2 separate regions of the Homo sapiens genome follow, and region 2 is linked to region 1. Evidence: promoter capture Hi-C in human tissues and cell types (Jung and others, 2019). All regions are on one chromosome and are shown on one strand. The core of a region is centred on a gene start or on the middle of the fragment in contact, and the rest is flanking DNA. Distances in the headings are between cores, read along the strand shown. Region 1 holds the start of DERA (deoxyribose-phosphate aldolase). Region 2 has its middle 180 kb from the start of EPS8.

What was found. Contacts are between HindIII fragments. The study calls those that stand out against the background at their distance.
Region 2: a contact is called between a fragment that was not itself captured here and the fragment with the promoter of DERA in region 1, in 1 of the 25 tissues and cell types used here (mesendoderm cells).

Annotation. Positions count from the first base shown.
Region 1 is chr12:15,909,882-15,917,305 of GRCh38, reverse strand. It overlaps DERA (deoxyribose-phosphate aldolase), which reads right to left and starts at 5,974. Exons shown (of 9, transcript NM_015954.4): 1 at 5,892-5,974. The coding sequence starts at 5,922. RefSeq lists silencers at 616-829, 5,687-6,036, 6,057-6,116 and enhancers at 4,796-5,539, 5,540-6,284. The HindIII fragment of the contact is 4,741 bases long and covers 4,237-7,424 here.
Region 2 is chr12:15,601,478-15,608,775 of GRCh38, reverse strand. No RefSeq gene overlaps it. Among named protein-coding and RNA genes, the nearest start is that of EPS8, 180 kb to the left of the region's middle. The HindIII fragment of the contact is 8,413 bases long and covers 1-7,298 here.

The sequences.
Region 1 (7,424 bases), core at 4,725-7,224:
TTAAATTCTCTTACCACCTGAGCTAAGAGCTAGAGTCAAATTTTCATATGCCACCTAATGAAGAATACACTGCCTTATGTTTTAGTTTTTTGTTTTTGTTTTTTCACTAGGAATTGACTTTTTTAACTTAAAGGCAAAATTTAAAGGCCTCTATCTCAATAAAAGAAATATGGGGACTTTGTAAGGTGTATTAGGTCACTTCTCACTTGTGACCCATAGATTCCTTAAACTGTTTATCTTGTTTACAGCTAAAGAGATTCCAGTTCTATTTTTCAGGAAACTACTAAGAGAAACTCCAGACGTAGAAATTCGGGACAAAAAAGTCACTCTAAATTAACAAAATTATCAAATACTTCACTATTTCTACTTAATTTTTTTTAACCTAAAGAACAAGAGCCTGGCACATTGACTACAGCCTATAGTCCCAGCCACTTGGGAGGCCACAGAGGGAGAACTGCTTGAGCCCAGGAGTTCAAGACCAGCCTAGGCAACACAGCAAGACCCCATCTCTTATTTTAAACATTTTTTAAAAGAATACATCAAGAAACAGGATTGTGCCAGGTGCGACGGCTCATGCCTGTAATCCCAGTACTTTGGGAGGCCGAGGCAGGTGGATCACCTGAGGTCAAGAGTTCAAGACCAGCCTGGCCAACACTGTGAAACCCCATCTCTACTAAAAATACAAAAACTAGCTGGGCATGGTGGCGCATGCCTGTAATCCCAGCTACTCAGAAGGCTGAGACTGGAGGCTCACTTGAACCCGGGAGGCGGAGGTTGCAGTGAGCCGAGATGGCGCCACTGCACTCCAGCCTGGGTGACAGAGTGAGACTCTGTCTCAAAAAAAAAAAAAAAAAAAAAAGAAACAGTATTGGTTTTTAAACCTAGAAGCTGAGGCCAGCCCAAAGACTGGAGTATGAAAGGTAACGTTTTACAAAACTGCAAGAGACGAAAACAAACACACACACAAAGAAAAGCCCCACTCTATTCACCTTGAGGTCACTCCCTGGTCACCATCACATGATGCTCTGAGGCTCATCAGTATATCCACATGAAGCAGTTCCTGAGGAAGTCTGGTTTTGACATGCCATCCTTGAAAACTTCACTAACATCGAACCCTACTCTCATAATCTACCAAAGTTTGGACTTTTCCATTCTCCCTCAGGATAAATTGCATCTTCTCTGAAACAAACTGCAATGGTTAAGATGTGGGTTATGGCAATAAAACAGTAACCTTTATGTTTTAAACAGACAAATCAAACCTAAAAGAGTAACATTAACAGTATTCACCAGTTATCTATTTGACTCTTCTGACATCAGGGTGTAGTGCTCCCAGTTAGCACCAGTCGACACAGTGTGGTTGTTTAAGCATGTAGCATTATTAGCACCAAATCACCTGGGCTTGAATTCTGGCTCTGCCACATTAGCTATACCTAACTGGTTTTCGGCAGGTTACTTAAAACTCCCTGTACCTCAGTTTGCTCGTGTGTAAACCTGGATCATGCTATCTCCCTCACAGGGCCATTGTGGACTAAATGAGAATTTCAAGCATTCAGCATAGTGCCTTACAAGTAGCTAGAGCTCTGTGTTGACACTATCATTATACCCAGCACCTAAGCACAGTGTCTGCACACAGTAGGTATTAAATAAGGTGAAGAATTATTATGCAAACAGATAGCCTTTGCCTATTGTTGAGGTTTAAGATGCCATTCTAGGCCATGCACGGTGGCTCATGCCTATAATCCTAGCACTTTGGGAGGCAGAGGCTGGAGTATCACTTGAGGCTAGGAGTTTGAGAACAGTCTGGTCAACATACTGACACACGGTCTCTATTGAAACAATAAATAAACAAATAAATAAATAAATATCCATTCCAAAAATTAAACGTTAACTTTGCAGTGGAAAATCACCATCACCCAAATCAGAAACATTCTGTACCCAAGTTATACTTTAGCAGGAATGCCAAAAATGAGCTCCCTAAATCCCTAATTCATAGGTTCTTTTAAAAGGAAATTAAAAATTATAATGCAAAAGGCCCAGGACATTCTGTTTTCACAACCCATTTAAAGCACAGTCTAGGTACATCTATCTAATTTTAGACAAAAATAAATGAAAAATAATTGCACATCACACTTGCATTTAATTGTAGCTCTAGCTTGATGTCCAGGTCCTGAACCAGACCGATTAATAGCTCTGTGAAGGCAGTGACCATCCCTGATTATCTTGTACCCCCAGCCTAGGGTAATACTACCCAGTACAGATTGGTACTCAATAACTACCTAAATAAATGTGCTTCTTAAAATAAAAAAATCCCACCAACCTGGCCAACATGGCAAAAACCCGTCTCTACTAAAAATATAAAAATATTAGCCGGGCTTGGTGGCAGGCACCTGTAATCTCAGCTACTCGGGAGGCTGAGGCAGGAGGATTGCTTGAACCTGGGAGACGGAGGTTGCAGTGAGCCAAGATCACACCACCGCACTCCAGCCTGGGCAACAGAGGGAGACTCTGTCTCGAAAAAAAATACAAAATCCCATCATGGTTATTTTTCAGATATCTTTGAAATGTTGCTTTTTGAACAGAAGAGTTTTCAGACACACAGAGACAGAGCAGGGAGATCCTTAGAAGTCATCTAATAACACCCGCATTCTCCAGACGCCTCCAAAGATAACATTTGCAAGGAAGTTACACTATCTACATCCTTTATAGGCTTCTTGAGATAGCTCTGAAGACGGATGTAACAAAACTGAATCTTAATAATACTTACAAAGAGGAAGAAGGTGCCAAGCTTCACAGCATCTGTCCATGCAACCATACACGGGGACCAGGTAGATTCCCCAGTTCCCCCAAGTAAGAAGCAGCTCTCAATTCATTCCTTCATTCAACAGACTTTTTCTTTTTTTTTTTTTTTTTTTATCTTTTTTGAGACACAGTCTGTCTCCAGTCTGTTGCCCAATGGAGTGCAGTGGCACAATTCCAGCTCACTGCAACCTCCACTCTCTGGGTTCAAGCGATTCTCGTACCTCAGCTTCCCAAGTAGCTGGGACTACAGGCATGCGCCACTATGCCCAGCTAATTTTTGTATTTTTAGTAGAGATAGGGTTTTGCCATGTTGGCCAGGCTGGTCTCCAACTTCTGATCTCAAGTGATCCGGCTGCCTTGAGCCTCCCAAAGTGCCAGGACTATAGGCATGAGCCACCATGCCCAGCCTCAAGACATTTTTGAGGGCCTTCTGTGTACCAAACACTATTCTAGGTACTTGGGACACATCAGTGAACAAAAGAAAGATCACTACCCACGTGACACCTGCATTTTAGGCAATAGTTAAGTGGCATCTAATAAAATAGAAGAATATCTGTACATTTTAATAGACTATATAGGGCATAATAGTCTAGGTACAAAACTTGATAGTACCTTGGAGATCATTAAGCCATTGGTTCTCAAACTTGGGTATGCTTCAGTACTACCCACAGGATTTGTTAAAACTCAGAATGCTGGGCCCCATCCTCTAATATGAAAGCTAGAGGGTACATTCCCTATTTGGAAAACATCTTTCATACATCCAAATGCCAATGTTTTCCTTAAAGACTTTTTAATCATGAGGGTCAGGTTTAGTCTCAAAGGAACTCAATGTTTTTTTAAGTCCATGAACTAGAAGTACATACACCAAATCATAAATAACAGTGATTGGACTAGTAATAATATTACAACATTTTTGTGCTAACTGTATTTTCTAGAATTTTTACAATAACCATGAATTCCTTTTGTAATAAGAAAAGGGAAGCAAAAATGTTAATTTATTTTAGAAATTAGTTACGATGTTTATTAAAAAGACTTTCAATTAGAAAACTATTTTAAAAATCATCAGTTAATATACTGCATAAATTAATACTGAAAGATTTTTTTCCCTAGTACCTAATTCAAATAACTTATTTTAGCATTTCAGTTTAAACCTGTTTGGATTAAGGATTAATACCCGTGAAGGAAAAAAATCTGATTTTAACAAATAAGATAATAAATACAAAGCTATGATCATTTCGATAGCTGCATAAAAACCACATTTACTATTGTTCTACCTGGCAATTATTTATGTCTATTACTTTTCAACAAATGAATGGAAGTGATTGATTCTAATTACTGCAAATAAATAAATTTAAAAATGGTTCAATTATGTTTTTTGAAAGAAAAATTTAAAATGTCTAAGTTTTGGGAAATTTAGGGCACATCCTTGATGTATGCATAGTCACATGGTCATATTCCTGGGAATACCCAGGTAAGACACCACCCCAAACCTGCCCCATATCCACCACCTTCAAGGATATTCCAATCTAAGAAATAATGCCGTTATTACTAAAGACCACGTTCCAGAGATAGGACTAGAGTTTAAAACATAATCAGCTAGAGGACAGTGACTAAAACAAAATCAACCAGGTTAGTAAATCAACTGTCTTTAAAATGATAGATTTACTCTCTTACCATTCGACAAAAAATCCAGAACACCTCTTGGAAGTGCAGACTGTTTAAGTACCAGTCACTTTTAAGGAGGGCGAAAAGGACCTACCTGTATGTGTTACATATAATTTACAGCCAATTTTCTCAAAATTAGCCCCTAAAACCATAACTCCATATACTAATACTATCTATACTGAAGACTTACTAGGTGTCCACAATATACCAAACTACTTTACATGTATCCTATTTAATCTCCTAACGGCCTTATAAGGTAACTACCACTAAAATAACCATTTTACAGATGAAGAAACTTAAGCGCAAAGTTATTAATTTGTCCGAAGTCACACAGGTAAGAAGTTAAAGATCCTGGATACACAGATATCCAAGCTATAATACTTAAACGAGACGCTTAAACCTTCTCTTGATCATGGTTTTGCTGTTTGAATTATAAATTTTTCACATGTTAAGAAATCTGAAGAAAAATTCTCTTCTGCCTTGGGATCCTGTTGATCTGTGACCTTATCCCCAACCCTGTGCTCTCTGAAACATGTGCTGTGTCCACTCAGGGTTAAATGGATTAAGGGCGGTGCAAGATGTGCTTTGTTAAACAGATGCTTGAAGGCAGCATGCTCGTTAAGAGTCATCACCACTCCCTAATCTTAAGTACCCAGGGACACAAACACTGCGGAAGGCCGCAGGGTCCTCTGCCTAGGAAAACCAGAGACCTTTGTTCACTTGTTTATCAGCTGACCTTCCCTCCACTACTGTCCTATGACCCTGCCAAATCCCCCTCTGCGAGAAACACCCAAGAATGATCAATAAAAAAAAAAAAAAAAGAAATCTGAACTAAGGTTTCTTGCCAGTATTTGAACAATATAAAAAAAGATGAAAACTGGGAAATAATACAGGTACTTTAACAAATCTTTGTAACTCTAAAATCCCATGAATCTGCAGTGTTACATTTTGAGCACAGACGGCTGACAACTTTTCCACGAGCACGGCCACTTCAAGGTTACGGTTAAAATTATCTACGGAAATACTGCATTAAATTACACAAGTATTCTATTAAAAGGAGGAGAAAGAAGGTTTTTATCTGTTTTTACCTGCTTGGGGGTTGTTTGTTTTGGGTTTTGTTTTTTGGGTTGTTGGGTTTTCCAACCAGCGAGCTAGAGTGAACGAAAAGGCAGGAAGATAATAATCTAACCCTTTCCTACTCCTTCCGCATACAAGAGTAAAAGCTTAGGTGCAAAGACAAGCGGCGCGAACGTGCCGGGTTCGGCCTTTACTTGGGGTGAGGGCTGACCAGACGCCACTGCTTCCCGCCCCAGCGAAAACCCCTCGGGGACCCACAGCCAGGGCACTGGGCGGCAGCAGGCCCCGCGCTAGTCCCGGCGGCGCTGAACGCGAGGGAGAGGGGATGGGGAGCCCCGCGGGCCCCTTACCGAGCTCGGTGCCCCGATTGTGCGCGGACATGGCGCGGGCAGCTCCGGAGCTGCCGGCTGGTAGGCGCCCGCCTCTGCGCCGCGCCCGGCCCTTCCTCCTTCCCGCCAGCTGGAGCGCTCGCCCCGCCCCTGCCCGCTCCCGGGGCGGAGTCGCGGGCCCGGGCTACGAGGTCTGTACCCTAGGAATATTGCTCCGCAAGGAAATCTCGCTGCTCCCCTCCCCCGTCTTCTCCACGAGGTACCGAACCGGAGCGCTAAGTAGCTCCCGGAAATAATGCTACCAACACCCTTTAAAAAATACTGAAGTTGCCAATTGCACGTAATAAAAATATTCCTAGAAACTTTTAACTGTAAGATTATATAACAAGAAGGAAGAAGATCCAAGTGCAGAGCTCTGCAACTTAAGGTCTGAAATGTCAGCAGGGATCCCATATCCTTGTTAGGGAAACCAAGGTGCAATCAAGGGCCCCGGGGCACACTGACTTTTCTAATCTACACATCATGAAAAGAAGCAGCTATGTGGCCTGAAGAAGGCAAGGGCTTAGGAGTCAGAAGACCTGGTTTCTTAGCCAAGCTCGGGCAATAATTAAATGTGTGACCCTGGGCAAATTAACTGCTTTTCCGAGCTTCATTTTTCTCATCTGTAAAAGAAGACCTTGACAATTTCTTGGTTCTTCAAAATACTATGATTCTATAAAGGTAAAATGCTTCAGCCTGATTTCTCTGTGACCAAGAGGTTAAAATCGTCGAGTCACTCCACAATCTCAATATAGTTAACTTATCTGTACTCACGTTTAGAGGCACCTCTGCTATGAAAACAGTACAGTTAGTTATGATTTGTCTACCATGAGCCAGTTATTGTGCTAGGTGCTTTCATACATCATATATAGATGTATGATAGCATTTGAGTCTCTGAACAATCCTGCCAATAATGTATTTTATCTCCATTGCTGTAACTTTAGACATCAAAGTTCTGAATAGAAAGGCATCCTGGTATAGGGGAAATACAGTGAGCTCAAAATGAGCTGAACCCATTAATATACCAGCTCTTCCATTTAATAAATGTAACTTGGCAGTTCTGGAAATAATAGTCTGTCTACTTACCTGTAAAGTGGAGATGATCAAAATATGTTCACCTTGCAAAGCTGTTGAATGTATGCAAGGCACCTAGTACATAACATGGCATACAGTAGATACTTAAAAAATGGAAGCTGTTAATGTTATTGTCAAGTTCACACAGTAATTACTGAGCTGTTTTAAATAGGAATAGTAATATTTGTATACTCCTCTACATTGAGCTTTCAGCCTTGTCCACACACAGCCACTGTTGAATGTTTCGGATGTGTGTAGATCTTACTCATACATACTATAGCACTTTTCTTTTTTATATTAACCTTGAAAAAGAGAAAAGCAGGCCCTGAAAGCCTGGAGCTGGCCTGAAACTCACAACTGGACCATGGTTTTCCCTGGTTAAACGTATACAATTTCACAGCACAGCATCAGCCAAGGCCATTGTGACCACAATGAATCAAC
Region 2 (7,298 bases), core at 2,350-4,849, 310 kb after region 1:
TACAGCTTCCATTTCTCTGCTGAGACTATTTGTTTACTCATAAAATAATATATTTTCCCTTAATTCTTTGAACACACTTTCTTTTATTTCCACAATGCACAAAGGCTACTTTGCAATCTTCATCTGCTAAGCTTAACATTTGATCCTTCTCATGCTCAGTTTCTGCTTATTGCTTTCCCCACTAACATTGGTCCTATTGTCCTGTTTCTTCGTGTGTGTCCTAATTTTTTATTATATATTTAACATTGCAGATGGTATGTTTCAGATATTCTAGAATATGTTATCTTTCCTTGAGGAATGTTTATTTTTGTTCTAGCAGGGAGTTCAATACCAGCTGATCACTTTAGAATTGTATAGGCTTGGTTTTATGCTCTGTTAGAATGAATTATAGAAAGCAAAATGTTTTTTGCGAGAGCCTCTAACTTAATGGGACTCGATCTAAAAACTCTCCTTTGCAAATCTTGTCAGGGCATGGTTCTAGGCTTTGTTTGTACCTGAGAAGAGCAGCTTTTACTCTAGGCTCCTTAGTTCTAAGTTCCTTTTTGCATTTTGGATGAATACCCGGGATATTTTTAATCTTAGCTGAATTTACATCCCAGGTTGTTAAAAGGTGCCGAACAAATCTCACTTTTGCTGAGCTGGACTGCCAATGTCCCTTGCACAGCTACCCTGGTAGCTCTAGTCCACTCTCAGCCTTGTAGCAATCACTGTTTGGTAGGCCTCGGGTGATGTTGCCTATGCCAAGGATGGGGGGTGGATCTACTTACAGATTTCTGTGGCCACTCTGCACAAATCCGTCCACCCTTGTGCCCCTTTTTAGAAATTTCAGGCACTTCAGGTGAACTGAATTCTGGTCTTTGCCTCTTCAGTTCAGTGGGACTATCTTGTTCTGCTTGAATTATAGCTTGCTGCTCTGAGGTTGCAGAATTGTCCCCAGGCGGAGAGCCGACAAGTTTTCCTTATCCCAGATATGATAGTCTCGTACTGCTTGTAAAAGGGGACCAATAGATTTTATCTCTTTCCCTCTCCTTAATAGGCACTGGGTCATGGGAAGCTAATGTGAGAGGTACTCTAATCACTTAAAACTCTTCACACTTTTCTCTAAGAAAATTTATAGGAAATATGGGATTCACTTGTTTTCTAAAATTAACTTTATAGAGGCTGCACTAGGGCTTGGGTGGAGATCTCACCAGGTCTGAGTCTTCTCACTTTCTTCTCAATGCTTGCATAAGGAAGGTGGAACAACATTAGAAAATTGTAGAGAGCCCATAAAGGAGTTTATATGAAGACTGGTTGTTTCTAAGTAGGAGACAATGTTCATTTAATAAACATTTAGCACATGTTTTCTTTTAGAATTGGATATTCAAGGGAAAACCTGGACAGGGTCTCTGCCTTCAAGGAACGCACACAATCTAAAGAACCGTTGCAGTTTGCCTTATTTATCCCGGAATCTAGTTTTACTGATTTCTTAGGACAAGATTACATCCTAAAACTAGCAGTGCTGACTTCCCAGACACTGTAATTTTACGCTGTGACACTTAGTTTTTCCCAAAGGGCATGGCCTTAACTTAGTAACTAGCATGAAAGATGTTCAGAGGGTTGTACAAAGGGCCCTTAGGAATGGATTGGGCAAGGAAGGCATTTTATCTTCTGTAATACCACCTTTCTCTTGCATACTTATTAAAAAAACTAAAATAAAACATAAAATACTTATAAAGCCATGGTTGCTGCAAGTGACTTCCAGAGAAAGGGTGCATTCTCAGCAGTTCTGGGTTCTATATGGGAATTTCAGTTTGTATGACGTGTTTCTTTTTCCCCACGCATTCTCTCTCCATCATCTTTGTTCCCCAATCCCTTCTTTTCTCCTCCATTTTTAAGACCTACTCCCACATCATCTCACAGCCCCTTTACTTGCCTCTTTGTTCCTTTCTATCCTCAGTTGAGGACAGGAAAAGAAGCCAGTGTTCTGAGAGCAGTTTTTCGGGAAATGCTCAGTTGTTTTTTGTTTTTGTTTTTATTTTGAGTGGGGGGCGCACTTGGCAGAACTATCTTCTAATACCCAAATGTTCAGATTTATCTCATCACGTTTGTGAAAGAAAGGTTAAAAAATGAAAAGTTAGTATAATTCTGATAAGATAGCATTACTAAGAACTACACAATTAAACGTGAAGGTGAATTGGAGGAAGATGTGGCTATTACGTGCTCTGAGAGAACTAAGGTCCCGGATGTGGATTTCTGTATGAACTGGTTATCTTAACAGTTGAAATGCCTTCGAAAGAGCTTTGGGCACATCACCTTGAGCTTGGTGCTGGAAGGAGGTGTGCGATGAGCCAGGACTGCTGAGGGGCCCAGATGGTCCTGGTCCAGGCGGCTCTCACGGCTCTTTCCTTCCTGACTGTAGTCCCAGGCAGTTGGCCCAATTCCTGCTCCATTTCTGGGCTGCCTCGGGTGGGAAAGCTCTGCATATGGAGTAGAATATAATTTCCCCATGTTCAATCATTCCTGTTTCCTCCAAAAATGAAATGAAGGCCCTTTCAGCCCATGGAAAAATGGAATAAAGCACACATGCATACACACACACACACACACGCACACGCACACGCACACACAAACTGGCCAGAAATTGAAATCTCTAGATCTTTCACAGTTTGTCCTGTTTCATTGTTTCTTACTCTGAACTGGTACCATATGACAAGGCCTTCTGCCCTCCCATCTATTCTAAGGAAAGGGAAACAGGAACTGAATTCATGTGTGCTGAGCACTTTCACATATATCCCACTTTATAAGAGAGGAAATTGAAACCCAGATAAGTTAGGTAGCTTGTAAAAGATTACAAAGTGGACAACTGAATTTGGACTCAATTTCTTGGACTTCTATATATCATGCAAACTTTTTTTCTCTCATGTATTATATAGGTCAGTGTATACAACAATTTAAGCAGAAAAAGCACTTTTTTAAAAAATGAAATTTTATATAGTATGCCTCCATATAACACAGGTAAAATCAGCACTGAAGATGCAGAGAGGAGTCCGGGAGCTTTATTTGGAAATCTCTGGACCTTGGAACTCCAGGTCCCATGAAGGCCCTTGCGGGTGGACATGAAGGTAGACTGGACAGTGGTTGTTCCAGGCAGCAGTTGAACCAGGAGATATAATTCTCAGTTGCAAAGGTCATTTGCATCTGTGGGGAATTTCAGATGACTGACCACCTCCTCAAAGCGCTATTTTGTTTAGATAGAAAAATTAGCTTTGGACGTTCTCTCATAGGTCCACATTTATGCTTTGGAATCGACATTACATAAAATACCAAGAAATCAGGGCAAAAATTACTGGATCTTAGTCTCAACCCTGCTCGTAATAGCCAGGCCCAAACTAGGAGTAGATATACATTTGCTTCAAGTTAATCTGTGGTGTGGTTTATTCAGTAAACACAACGACAGTGTCCTCTCCAGCTCTTAGGAGGTATGTGGGAAAAGGATTGATTTGTCTTTCACTAGTGAAGGAACCTAGCAGCAGAGCTATTGGAACATAGGCTAAAAGAGGCTAAGACAGGTGCCATGAGCTGTTGCTAGCTCATAAAATATAGCTCTTCTGAGATCACACCACTGCACTCCAGCCTGGGCGACAGAGCGAGACTCTGTCTCATACACACACACAAAATACAGCTCTTTGCAAGGTAAGCAGGTCATGGTGTTAATAGCCTGTAGCAACCTCGTATCTTGCAGTATATAAGTAAGGGCGCACTTTTTATTAGGAAAACAGCACAGGGAAGTTAGTCTATTGCCTCATCTCCAAAACCAATCTTATTATAGGATGGAATTTGGAAGTCTGGGTAATTTGTTTCATTTGCATTGCAGCAAATGGAAAAAAAAAGAATGAGAAAATGACTATTGTTATACCTTGGTGACAGCGCAGTGGATTTACAGAACGCAAATTAAAACAGATATCTGAAATTGCCTGGATGCTTCCAAATTCTTTTATTATTTTTTCCAACTGAGTTTTCCACCCCAATATGTGACATGTATGTGCAAACAAAACTTCTGCCTCTTTTTTTTTTTTTGACGGAGTTTTGCTCTGTCGCCCAGGCTGGAGTGCAGTGGCGTGATCTCGGCTCACTTCAACCTCTGCCTCCTGGGTTCAACCGATTCTCCTGCCTCACCCTCCCGAGTAGTTGGGACTGCAGGCATGCACCACCACGCCCAGCTAATTTTTTTATATATATTTTTAGTAGAGACGCATTTTCACCATACTGGCCAGGCTAGTCTGGTGTTGAACTCCTGACCTCAGGTAATCTGCTGGCCTTGGCCTCCCAAAGTGCTGGGATTACAGGAGTGAGCCACTGCGCCTGGCCAAACCTCTGCCTCTTACGGGAGCTGCTGACTCCAAGTGTGGCAGCACTTCATGGGTTGGGTTGTTACTGCTGCTCTGGGAGCTGACCTTGTGTAGGGGGCATGCTCATGCTAAGGGCGCCCATGTGGGACTGAGAAATCAAAGGGGCACACTCACTCTGTAGATGTCTTGGTACTGAAAGGAGTAGGTGGGTTTGGTGGCCTAAATGCACTAAGAGAGGGAGAGATTTGGAAATTTGAAGAATCATACTGCATTTATGCTATGCTGACTCTGCCAGGTTTTTGGCCGGTGCTTTACACAACCAGTTATAAGTTTTACCACAACTTGAAAACGTAGATATTATTTTTTTATTGTGGGAACACTTAGGCTGAGAAATAGTAGGTGACTTCTCAAGGCCACACTGCTAGTCAGCATAAGAGCACAGAGTTCTGTGACTCTGAAGACTATACTTTCTCAATTATGCCATTCTGTACCCTCAGACCACCAGGCACCATGCCAAGGGCTTTACATTTAATCCTCAGTGCAGCCCTGTGGAGGAGGCTCTTATTATTGCCATTAACAAACAAGGAAACCAGTTCACAGAGGGATTAAGTGGTGCTCACAAGCGGTGTCTGTTCACGCCAAGCATCTCTTCTTAACTTGACCCAGGCGTATGTACATATTAAGGTTTGTACAAATTGGCTGTCTTGTCTTAGAAGCAGTCAGCTCTCTAGATATAGTTTTAGTGCAAGGAATTTGTGCAGATTATCTGTACAGCTGCAGACATCTTCATGGAATGTAAATTAGGTGCTGACATTGCTTTTCTGGGAAACCCGCTAGCATAGATTACATACACTGGACATAAAACACACACATTGGTAATACATTTGCTAGTAAAGAATTGGAAATCCAGGCCTGGGAAATCCAGGACTCTTATCTGGAACACTAGCTTCTGCTTTTGCATCAAATGCCTATGACACAAGGTCATCCACATTGGGTCACAGACTATACCTCTTTTATATTCCAAGGTCTGTGACTGTGAGGGTAGCTGCCAGGGGAGGGGGTTCAGGTGTCACCCTGGAAAAACCCAGTCAGTCTAGGTCAGATACCAGCTTCAGATGCTCTTACCAAGTCTATTGAAGACTATCAGGATGGCCCTTAGAGACTGTGGGAGATTGGCTTGTAACAGGGTGGTATGTAATGTACTAAACTATTCCTGGTATTGTTTTCAGATCCTTACACATGTTATCTTCTGATGCCCTATGCAATGGACTGAATTTGCCCCCAAAATTCATATGTTGAAATCCTAATCCCTAATGTAATGATATTAGAAGGTGGGGCCTTTGGGAAGTAATTATATCATAAAGGTGGAACCTTCATGAATAGGATCAGTGCCCAGATAAAAGGAACCCCAGAGAGCTCTCTTGCCTTGTTTCTGCCATGTAAGCATACAAGAAGGCAGCTGTCTGCTACCCAGAAGAGGGCTCTCACCAGAACCGACCATGCTGGCATCTTGATCTTGGACTTACTGCCTCCAGAACCGTAAGAAATATTTAAAGCCACCTAGTTTATGGTGCTTTGTTACAGCAGCCCTGACTAAGACTCCCTATGTGAAAGCTACCATCAGGATGTCATTTCATAGATTAGATGACTGAGTTATATGTAGTCAGGAGCAGAGACTTAGCTCAAGCCTCTCTTCAACCACAGTCCCTTATTCTAAGCCCCTCTGCTCTGCTGTCCTGCTGGACCCTGTCCTGTGTCACTTCCCAAGTTCATTGGTTAAGGGGCAATATGATCTAATTTGGTTTTGGACATGAAGGAACCTTTCTAAGACCATCCTGTTTTATATTTATAAAGGATGTAGTGGTTACAGTTAACTTTTTCTAGTTTAAACTGCCCTTTGAACTTTTTGGTGCTCTTAGAACTGAACAAAAATATTTCGTGTCAGCTGGCTTTGAACTGTGACCATGGCCCTGGAACGCACCAGGACACGCACAAAATGTAAAGGATTGGGTTGCCCAGCATCACTCCAAACACCAAGCCTCATGGGCTCCTGTATGTGTGAGCTTTTGTTGATGTGAAACCACTTTGGGGTATATTGTTAATAGGAATCCAGGAGTCTGATTCAGAGGCAATGGCCTAGTGTAAGGGTAAGAAGTTCTAGTGGGTGTCCTGAGTCATGGTCTTATGATGGGGTGTGAAAAGCAATGACAACCAAAAGATCAGGAGAGATCTAACCTGGAGGAAAACAACTTATAAAGAAGAATTCATATATTTCTGTTAAAAAGTTTATTTATTAAAGGAACCATTATTGCTTTTGTGGCCTTTCCTGAACCCTTGTTTTGCATTGTGGGTTTACTTTGCTCTGCACTGCTTCATCTTTAACTGTCTTCTGGGAATTTTACTGGGCAGTCACACACCATTGCTCTGAAAACTTCCTATTGTAACTTAGATGGAACATTGTTGTAAAGGTTATCCTTGTGCTGCCATATTAGTTAAGGGCAGGTTGATTGCTGTAACTGACAATGACCAAGTTTCAGTGACAATGCAATAGAAATCTATTTCTTGATCACATAATGGGCCAATGCTACCAGATATCCCTGCCCCAAGTGGTGATTCAGGGACCCAGAGTCCTCCTATCTGTGGCACCACCATCTGTGTTGGGGTAGAGGAGAGGGAGAGAGAGAAAGAGACATACACACATTCACAGTCACACACACACAGAGAGAGAGAGACAAGAAAGAAGAGGGGTGGGGGAGGGTGGAATGGAAGGTTGCTCCTGGGTAATTTTCATGGTCCAGAGGCCAGGAAGCACACATTCCATTGCCCAGAACTCTGCAAAGGGTCTTGAAAAGTAGTCCCAGTATGCTCTGTTAGGTTTGCAGTAAGAGTAAATCCACTAGATTCTGCTGAGTGATACATGAGCTGGAGCTGTTTGTGGACATCTTAAGAGAAATGGTCCCCTTGGAA